3 separate regions of the Homo sapiens genome follow, and regions 2 and 3 are each linked to region 1. Evidence: promoter capture Hi-C in 16 types of primary human blood cells and fetal thymus (Javierre and others, 2016). All regions are on one chromosome and are shown on one strand. The core of a region is centred on a gene start or on the middle of the fragment in contact, and the rest is flanking DNA. Distances in the headings are between cores, read along the strand shown.

Region 1 (3,520 bases), core at 532-3,031:
AGCCCTTTCCCCTGGCCGCCAAGAATCCGGCCTTGGGGTAGTCAAAGAGTGACTTTAGTCACTTCAATCGGTTTTGTTTTGTTTTGTTTGTTTTTTGTTTTTTGTTTTTTTTATATATATATATACTGAGGGTCTCCATGTGCCGGAGTAGCCCTGGGCGAGTCGGCTGCTCAGATGATGAAGGTTTCGTCCCAGCCCCGGAGAACCCACATTGTCCTGCGCACCTCCGCACCACCGCGATTCTCTAGTCCTCCAAAGCCTCCCAAGACTGTAATGGAGTAAATTCAATTTCGTCGTGATATTTCCAAGACTATATCAGTGAAGTTTTTTTTTAAGAGTTGTGGGCCGGGCGCGGTGGCTCACGCCTTTAATCCCAGCACTTTGAGAGGCCGAGACAGGAGGATCACGAAGTCAAAAAATCGAGACCATCCTGGCCAACTTGGTAAAACCCTGTCTCTACTAACAATACAAAATTAGCTGGTCGCGATGGCGCGCCTGTAGTTCCAGCTACTCGGGAGGCTGAGGCAGGAGAATCGTTTGAACCTGGGAGGCGGAGGTTGCAGTGAGCCGAGATTGCGCCACTGCACTCCAGCCGGGAAGACAGAGTGAGACTCCGTCTCAAAAAAAAAAAAAAAAAAAAAGATTTGTGTTCGGGTGGGTGGCAACTGAGAGCTCGCCGAACCACAACCTCTTATTTAACAGATAAACAGATAAGGAAGCTGAGACCCAGAGGGAGCCAAAGCAGTGGAGAAAGCGAGTTCTTTGGGACTTTTCCCCTCTCCCCTTTCCCTCCTTCCCCAGGCTCCCACCTACCCCAGGCTCCCACCTACCCCGGGCTCATTTCCGCCCCCCACCTCCTCCAGGTTCACTTTGTAGGACTCCGTTCCTGCAGGGCCAGGTCCCTCCGAAGTCCCCGGGAGCGTGAAGGCGCCTGGGCTCGCGAGCATACGCGGAGGCTTGGCGCACCCTGGCACGTCCCAAACAGCAGAGCCAAGACTGCGAGACACTCACAATAGTTAGGGGAAGAGCCGGCAGTGGAGGCCCAAAATGGGCTGACCCCTAACTAGGAGGCGTGGGCGCGGTTATTCAGGCTAGGGCGCACGCGGACGGCAGAGGGGCCCACGCACGGTTCCCATGCTCTCCTGGAATTGAGTGTTGGCTCTCAGGGGACTTTGCTGGAAAGCCTCCATCTAAGCCCCTTTCCGAAATCAGGGAAGCTGGACGCGTTTAGAAAAAAGAAAAAAAATAGGCCGGTCGCGGTTGCTCACGCCTGTAATCCCAGCACTTTGGGAGGCCCAGGCGGGCAGATCGTCAGGAGTTCAAGACCAGCTTGGTCAGGGTTTCGCATGGCTAAAACCTGTCTCTACTAAAAATACAAAAATTAGCCAGGGTGGTGGCACGGACCTGTATTCCCAGCTACTCGGGAGGTTGAGGCAGGAGAATCGCTTGAACCTGGGAGGCAGAGGTTGCAGTTAGCTGAGATGGCGCCACTGCACTCTAGCCTGGGCAACAGAGTGAGACAAAAAAGAAGAAAAGAAAAGAAGAAAATAATAAGGTTTTAAACTTAAAGGATACATTCCTACTTACCCTCTCCACCCCCACCCTCTGGCTGCAGTTTCCATTTGCTTCCAGGGCTGAGTTTAACCTCCACCTCCGTTCCTGGGACTGTGGTGGAGGGGGCGACCGGCCCCTGGAGCGTGGGCGCTAGCGAGGTAGGCGAGACAGGGCGGAGCCCCCCGGAGGTATATCTTTATAAAGGAGGGGGCAGCTGCCAGAGGTCGATGCTGCCGTTCGGGTGGAGAACGTTCAGCACCGCGGCCAAGGACAAGGCCCCGCCCGGGTCCATAACCATTGTCCCCAGCTTCCAGATATCTAAACAGCCTCTCTCTCTTTCTCTCTCTCTGCACCTCCCCTTCACACACCCCACTTTCTTCTTTAAAGAGAAGAAAAAAAACCCACCTGGCGCACCTGTCCTTTTTTCTTCTATTTTTCAGAACCCTGGGCGGAAAGCGCGAGCGAGTTGGGCAGATGCCGGCGGCCGCGGTGCAGGAAGCGGTCGGCGTGTGCTCCTACGGGATGCAGCTCAGCTGGGACATCAACGATCCGCAGATGCCTCAGGTAAGTGAACCGGGTGTGTGCGGGCACGCGGGGCGCTGTCCATCCGAAGGAGGGAGAATGGCATTCGAGTTCTTGAAGAGTCTGCGGACGGACCATACACACACACACACACACACACACACACACACACACACACACACACACACACATACCCGCAAAATTTCTGGGTTTCTGAGGCCCTCTCAAGTGTAGAAAGAAAACTGGACTCTACAAAAGGCTGAGTTGGGTTTAGAAATGTGTCTTCTTGGCCGGGCGCTGTGGTTCATACCTGTAATCCCAGCACTTTGGGAGGCTGAGGCGGGTGGATCATCTGAGGTCGGGAGTTCAAGACCAGCCTGACCAACATGGAGAAACCCCGTCTCTACCAAAAATACAAAATCAGCCCAGCGTGGTGGCGCATGCCTAAAGTCGCAGCTACTCGGGAGGCTGAGGCAGGAGAATCGCTTGAACCCGAGAGGCAGAGGTTGCGGTGAGCCAAGATCACGCCATTGAACTCCAGCCTGGGCAACAAGAGCAAAACTCCATCTCAAAAAAAGAAGAAGAAGAAGAAGAAGAAATGTGTCTTCTCCCAGCAATTTCCTTGTGCTTGCCTGAAATCACAAGCAAAGCAGCAGGAAATGTTGGTCAGGCTCCACATTCCCAGTCTTGGGGAGAGCGGGACGCCTGTCCTTTCACTTCCCTTTAACCAAGGTAGAAATTAGGTGCCTCTCTCCTTATTCATTTACTTTAAATCCATGAGGAAGCTAAGGAGAAAATCTAAGCAGATGTAAATACCACTGCTTCTCATGCAGCAAAACTGAGGTACAACTGTAAAGTGAATCTAATGACCTAAATTTAAAACAAGTAGCCCGACTTGAGCAATTTGCTCAGACCTCCCTAACTGCTCAGAGGAAGGAGGCCCCATAGTCATGCCAACAAGGCCACCTGTACCCAAAACTTACTTCTTCTCTAATGACAAGCAAATCATCATTCTTTTAGGGTGAATTTGTTGTATTTTGCTTTATTTCAATAAAGCAAAAATGGTTTGGAGCCAAGTCCAAAGAATGACTGGGGTGGATGAAGTGGTGAATGAAGTGGGTGGTTTGAAGCCAGTTCCAGAGAATGACCAATTATCATTAGTCACACTGGTTAGGGCCAAAATTGAGTGATGTTGAAGTCCTGGCTGTAGGGGGTGGGGGGTGTAGAATGAGAGTTGCTTCCCTGCCATTTGCAGATGTGGGCTTCCAGCAATGTTGTGGCACAGGGATAAAAGAGATGGGTCATTTTGTCCGCAACTAAAATGTGTCTGATAGGTGTTCAGATGAATAACAATTCATTGCAACATTGTGTCGCCTCTCATAGAGGTCAGCACTTTTTTGGATCCATATATTTGTAGTAGGTTAGGTGTGTTTTACTCCTTTGT
Region 2 (3,580 bases), core at 418-2,917, 620 kb before region 1:
TCCACAGTTACTGTAACGACCGGGAAGATCAGAGGCATCAAAGGGGCTTGACCTTCAAGGAGGTGGAGGGATGGATACTGGAGCATGGCATTCCCACAGGCAAAATAGATAAGGGCAAACAAGGCTGACGCTTAACATCTACAACGAGAAAAGGCAAGAAAGGAGGGGCAAGAGGCTGACAGCAATTGCCCCAGTAAAAAGTCAGGATACTTTCCTCAATTCTAGGAACTGAGCCAATTTTCAGGTCCAAAATCCATTGACTAAAAAGACAGCCAGGTCCCTAAGAATAAGTACCCTGCAACACTGCAACAAGTTTATATCGAGATGACTTGTCCCATCCTTCCCTAAAGGGACCCACGACCATTTGCTTAGGTGACTGTATGCCAGGGAAAGGGAAGGTCTAGACTATTGCACACAAGTTCCGAGTTGACCTTGACACCCGGACCCCTTGTTGAAGTGGGGCCTTATAAGAATCAAGTAATGAATGGAGTCCTAGCTGGGTCTGGCACAGAGTGGGCCCACAGAACCTGTAGACTCACCCAGGAAGCATTTCTCCATTTCCATGTATCACTGGAATGAATGTACTTGGCAGTTGGAGTAAACCCTATATTTGTTCCTTGGTCAGTGAGGAAGTGCTATCATAGTGGGAGAGGCCAAATGGAAACTCCGAAACTGTCCCCCAGGCAAGATGGTAAATACAAAATAGGGATTGGTCGTCTCTATCATATCTCTTTTTAATTGCTAGTCTCCCCCAGCAGGAAGTGGATGGACTCTGAAGAATGACAACAGATGAGTACAGTTTCAATCACATGGTGGTCGACTGCGGCTGCTGTGCCAGAGGTGGGATCACAGCTGGAGCACATTAAACAGGCCGCAGGCCCGTGGCATGTGGTTGTCTATTTGGTGAATGTGCCTTTTCTATCCATATTAGAAAAAAAGATCAGGAACAATTCACATTCACGTGGACAGACTCCAATATTCATTTATTGCTTTGCCTCAGAGCTATCTTAACTCAGCTGCCCTTTGCCATAATAGTCTGAAATAATCTAGATCACCTGAACCCACGGAACATCAAACCCATCCACTGCATCAATGACATCATGTTCATTGGCCAGAAGAAGCAAGAGGTGGCTAGTATGCTGGAGGTCTTGGTAAAACACTCATGCTCCAGAGAGGAAAAGATGAATGAGGATTTAAGGAATCCAGTGGTTAGGTTCATGCTGGAATATTCCCTCCAAAGCAAACGATAAATTGCTGCATCTTATATCTCATACCTCAAAAAAGAAGTGCCTGGTAGGCCTCTTTGGGTTCTGAAGGCAACTCATGCCACACTTAAGACTGCAGTTCCAGGCCAGGCGTGGTGGCTCACGCCTGTAATCCCAGCACTTTGGGAGGCCGAGGCGGGCGGATCACGAGGTCAGGAGATTGAGACCATCCTGGCTAACACGGAGAAACCCCATCTCTACTAAAAATACAAAAAAAAATTAGCCAGGCGCGGTGGCAGGCGCCTGTAATCCCAGCTACTCAGGAGGCTGAGGCAGGAGAATGGTGTGAACCCGGGAGGCGGAGCTTGCAGTGAGCCAAGATAGCGCCACTGCAGTCCCGCCTGGGCGAAAGAGCCAGACTCCGTCTCAAAAAAACAAAAAGACTGCAGTTCCAGCTCACAAATTGGGCAACATGATTATTGGCAGCTTTGAGTTGTGCCTGAAGCACAAAAAGGCTAGAGATGCAGGTCTGTCACCTGTGAAAGGGGAGGGAGAAGGAGGGTTAGTTAGGAAGAGTCTCAAACTGCAGTGCTGTCCTGCAAAAGTCTCAGCCAGCCCAACAGAGAGCTCCAGAGCAAAGGCTGCCTGTTGGAGAAGTTCCATGATGAACAGAAAGGGCCAGGCCCTGGCACGCCCACTGTGCTCATTAGCTGTTAAAGGTCTGCCTAGGAAAAGCATGGCCTCAGCTCAACTGCTGTGGCTAAGCAACCAGAGGCACTGCAACCAAGGCCATCACCTAACTGCACCCTCACAGCTAATCTACAAGTTCTTTCTTGAAGGGAGATCATAATAGCTCCATATCCCCATATTGGAGAGAATTCTCACTCTGCATTCTGCCAAGGAGCTGGTGTGTGTGTGCGTTTGTGTGTGTGTGTGTGTGTGTATGCACACATGTGACAAAGGTTTATTTAACTTATCAATGAATGAAGAAGGAGAAGAAAAATTACTATATATAGTCAATGAACAAAAAGAATGCTGGAATAAGACTGCAAGTGAAGTTGAAACTGGTAAATTATAAAACAACACAACTATAATCTGTAGGATTTATATTTCCTACTGGACAGAAATGAATTGCAACATAATGATCCTCCACAAGTTAACATTAACTTTACAAGAGTCTCACCTTCATCAATAGCAAATAATCAAAGTAACTTTCTTCCTGTAAAACTTCCCAACTGGGGGAACATTTGCCCTCTCCTCACCCCAGAGATATCTGACAATGTCTGGAGACATTTGTGGCTATCGCAACTAAAGGGATGAAGGTGTGCTACTGGTGTCTGGTGGGCAGGGGCCAGGGATACTGCTAAATGACCTATTACGCCCTGAACAGCCCCCACGGCAAAGAATTACCCAGACCAAAATTTCAATAGCGCCAAGACTGAGAATCGTGTACAGATGACACTTTTGACAGCTTATTAGGCAATGCTCTAGTATGACACCGAAAGGGCGTAAGAAGATCTTTAATGTTTCCTTCTGCTTTCACTTAAATGTAAAATTGGGATAATGATATATCGAAGCAACTTCATTTACGGTGAAGGATGATTAAATAAAACAATTGTGGTTGATTGTATTTTTACAAAGATGATGCACAAATATATATCCCATCCCACATGCTCTTCTTCTGACGTGACACTGACATTCCTGTATTGAGGGGTGGAGGCTATGTTCCCTTCCCTTGAACCTGGGTAGACGTTTGCAATTACCTCTATCAACAGAACACAGCAGAAGTGACATTTCCTGACCTCTGAGGCTGGATCATAAAAAGCAACACGGCTTCCTCCTGGCTCTCTTTCTGGGGACACCACCTTGGATGTTCTGAGCCAACATGAAACAAGTCTGGCTATGCTTGAGAAACCCTAAAGAGGGACTACATAGAGACAGAGAGAAGCTCCCACCCCAGCCTGTCCAGTCTTATCAGCTCAGACACCAGACACGGGAGCGAATGAGGCTTTACAATAACCCCAAGTACTGTCTGATTGCGATCTCATGTGAAAGAAGCCTCCAGGCAGAACCACCCGACAGAGCTCCTTCTGAATTCCTGGCCCATAGACACCGTGGGAGATAATAAATGATTTTGTTGTCTTAAGCTTCTATATTTTAAGATGATTTGTTCCATAGCAACAGACACTAAAACAACCATACAAAAATAGTCCTTAGCACCCTGCATGGAAAGTGAGTTAACTGGTCACTCTTGTGGGGTAGTTTTAGTATTTTTAAGTAATATTTATGTAGTATTTTTACTGTTTCCGTGCGCAAGAGGGCACACTGTCCGTTGACAGCCCTCATACATGGAGGTGTAATTTTCTAATCAAAGC
Region 3 (3,472 bases), core at 132-2,631, 640 kb before region 1:
CCTTTTGCCCTTTGCCCACCTTCCTTCCCTTCTGAAAGTTTGAACATGGTGTGAATAGATAATTAAGCATTTTCAAATTATTGTTTATTCCTTTCTATTCTTTGTAAACCTTTGAAAAGCAAGGCCATTTCCTTCTCATATATACTGAGGTCTAAGACATGAGAATGAAAATAATAAATCTATGGGTTTAAATTGATCACTTACTTTGAAATTACTGAGTAGACATCCACCCCTTGAAATAGAAATACACCCCTTGGAAGTTTTATTTTTGATCCAGTCACAGTAGCCTGTTAGGGCTATTAATGACTGTGAAAAGATTTATGTATAATACATAACTTCAAAAAACTTATATTGAAAAGCTTGCCTGGTTTGAAGTCATTGGGAATTTAAGCCAACAAGGTTGATTTTCCATTTAAAATCAGAATTTTGTTTTTCATATTTAGGTATTTAAAAACAGCTTTGATAAATATTTGGCCCATTTTTAAAAAAGCCCTCAATGGTGCTAATGTGTATAATGTGAGGGTAGATTTGGTGTTTGGATATAGTCAGAAGTTGTTTGGTGTTGTGTCAGTTAAGTGACCAGCCTGGGAAATATTTATTTTGATCAAAACTGAGGTGTATCTTAAGAGGTAAAACTTTTGTCTGAGTAATTCATAACCTGGTTTTGAAGAAAATTCAAAAGTATTTGAGCTAATGGTAACAACATTAGAATAAGAGTCATACCTTCCAGAGTGTCTTCTCTGAAGGGTAATATCAACTGGGAATTATAAATGATACAAATGTGACTATAAAGTAAAATACTACATAACTAAAAATATTTTACTTTACAGTCACATCTCTTGAAATCTTTCATTTGCACCAGATTTGGTCTTCGATGAAGATATCATATCATCTCCCAATTCTTTAGCTATTTTCCTCTCCTTGGAGATCTTATTTATTTTCTGTGTTTAAATATACACAAATAACTCCTATTAAAAGAGAAACAAAATTGAAAACAACATTCACTTTATTGTTTACCTGACTCATCTAAGATCACTTTTTCCTTTCCCTTACAATAAAAATTCTTCAAAGAATAACACAGTATATTGCCAACATTTAACTGAGTTCCGTTTTTTTCCCCTAGCGATGGGGTCCCGCTCTGTTGCCCAGGCTGGTCTCGAACTCCTGGCCTCAAGCAATCTTCCTGCCTCAGCCTTCCTAGTGGTTGGGATTACAGGTGTGAGCCACCGCACCTGGCTTTAACTGAGTTCTTTCTATGGGGCAGACACTGTGTTAAGCATTTTTCATGTTATATTAATCCTCCCTATGAGCAAAGTGTTATTCTCCTCACTTTAAGGATGAGTATATTAGTTTCCTGATGCTGCCATAATAAAATACTATAAACTGGTGGCTTACAATAGCAGAAATTTATTTTCTCATAGACCTAGAGGCTGGTAGTCCAAAATCAAGGTGTTGGCAAGCCCCTTCTGAAGCCTCAAGGGAGACTCTGTTCTGTGCCTTTTTCTTAGTTTCTGGTGTTGCCGGCAGTCCTTAGCGTTCCTTGGCTTGCAACTGCATAACCTCAGTCTCTACCTCTGTCATCACGCTGGGTGTCTTCCCTGTGCATGTCTCTCTCTGTGTCTCTCTCCTCTTCTTATAAGGACACCAGTCATATTGGATTATGGAGCCACCCTTCTCCATTATAACCTCATTTTAACTAGTTATGTCTGTAATGACCCTACTGCGAAAGAAGGTCACATTCTGATCTGGGAAGGACATGAATTTGGGGGACCATATTCAACCCAGTGCACTGGGACTTAGATACACTTCTACTCGTTAAGTTGTACAGTTTGGGTGGAACCAGGATTCAGGTACTGTGACCATCAGAGCCTGTCATCATAACTGCTTCACTATTTGATGTGACCACTGGCCCATCGCCTTGCTGCTCCTCCTTCATCCATGTGATCCCGTTTCCAGTCCCAGATTGCCATTGAAACTCTTCTCCTAAAGGACCTCACCTTCTGGATCATCCAGCTTCTTCCTGCCCTAGTGGTGACATCCTCCTCCTTAGCACTCTGCTCCCTTGGTTCTCTGGCCACACTCTGAGTCTCACACTCCAGACCGGGTGTTCCCTCTTGCGCTTGCTCATCTTACTCATCCTATGTCCTAAATGTGGGTGCTTCCCAACTCACATTTCTCTGTCCTTCCCTTCACATTCTTTCTTTCTGAAATCTCTTCCATTCTCAGTTTCAGTTGTAACTTCTATGCCATTGGCTCTCCCTTCTGTGTCAGTCTGTTTCTCCCTGCTGCCCTCTCCCCTAAGCTCCAGCCTCATACCTTCAAACTCCTGCTAGACAAGAAGTCCTACCATCATCTCTAGCCCAGCATGCTCAAGCCAGGTATTTTTCTTCCTTGAAAAGCTTTCATCCTGTCTCACCATATGCACTGACACACATGTCCTGGCCCAAGTCCTTGCTGTCTCATGGAAGGAACACTACAGCAATGCCCTAGTTAACTGGCTTGATGCCAGTCTCCACCCTTCCAGTGTGTCTTGCATAACCTTGACCAACTAATCTCTCCAAACCCAATTTTAATTCTTTTATTCCCTGTGCTCAGCCATTCCCTATGTTCTGCTGCTTCATGTTTACACTCCTCTGACATCTCTTTATCCACCATCTTCACCCAGTATAATTTCCCATGGCTTCAATATGCACTTGTACTCTAGTTAGGCATTGCTTCTCTGCAAAACTGAGCATATTCTCATTTCTGTGCTGTGACTTATGTTATCCACTCAACCCTTTATCCTCTCCAATCTTGCCTCTTCCATCAGGCCCCAGATCAAATCTCACCTCTTCTATGCAGTTTTCTCTACCATTTCAGGTTTCATTCATTTCAGTGGAGCCTCAAGGAAAGAATAACAGAAAAGTGGTCAGAAATGCAGGATGAACTTGCTCTCTCCGTGTCCTCTGTTCTTAGCTTCTATGTTTATATTTGCTCCATCTTTCTCTCTCTCATCTCAGAACTTCTAAAAATCAGCATACACATTACTCTGAGCTGTCCTGTTTTATTAATTGTTGCTTTACGTCTCTTCTCAACTATTTTATCAGACAAGTGAGGGCAAAGGCCACAACTCATCTTTTTTTCCCTTAATAGCTATACCACCTAACACAATATTGAATACTTACTAAACAATTTTCACTTAATTTACTTAATACAATTTCACAATAAGTTGAGTGGAGTTTCTTACAGAAGTGCCAAAAAACTGTTTCTGAAACCTAATGTGTTCTAGACACTAGTTTTCTAAGCCAAAAATATTTCACTGAAGGTAGACAGAGTCTGCAATGTGAAATGTGAAGATAATTTTCTCAATCATATAAGCAAAAATTAGTTTTCAGGATATTTTAGAGTTGTGTTAATTCTCTGCTATCTTCAGTTTTCTAGAAAAATTCTTAAAGCTATAATAAACAAGATAAATTATATTGGTAGTACTGGA

What was found. Contacts are between HindIII fragments. The CHiCAGO score rates a contact against its expected background, and 5 or more counts as called.
Region 2: a contact is called between a fragment that was not itself captured here and the fragment with the promoter of GCM2 in region 1, in 1 of 17 cell types (M1 macrophages). The highest score is 5.6, in M1 macrophages.
Region 3: a contact is called between a fragment that was not itself captured here and the fragment with the promoter of GCM2 in region 1, in 1 of 17 cell types (M2 macrophages). The highest score is 6.0, in M2 macrophages.

Annotation. Positions count from the first base shown.
Region 1 is chr6:10,880,302-10,883,821 of GRCh38, reverse strand. It overlaps GCM2 (glial cells missing transcription factor 2), which reads left to right and starts at 1,781. Exons shown (of 5, transcript NM_004752.4): 1 at 1,781-2,118. The coding sequence starts at 2,029. RefSeq lists a silencer at 1,592-1,886. The HindIII fragment of the contact is 9,517 bases long and covers 1-3,520 here.
Region 2 is chr6:11,496,390-11,499,969 of GRCh38, reverse strand. The region is part of intron 3 of LOC105374928 (a long non-coding RNA gene); the gene reads right to left. Among named protein-coding and RNA genes, the nearest start is that of TMEM170B, 40 kb to the left of the region's middle. The HindIII fragment of the contact is 3,374 bases long and covers 1-3,354 here.
Region 3 is chr6:11,522,040-11,525,511 of GRCh38, reverse strand. LOC105374928 (a long non-coding RNA gene) reads right to left here. Exons shown (of 5, transcript NR_187824.1): 5 at 1,388-2,881. Among named protein-coding and RNA genes, the nearest start is that of TMEM170B, 14 kb to the left of the region's middle. The HindIII fragment of the contact is 2,040 bases long and covers 362-2,401 here.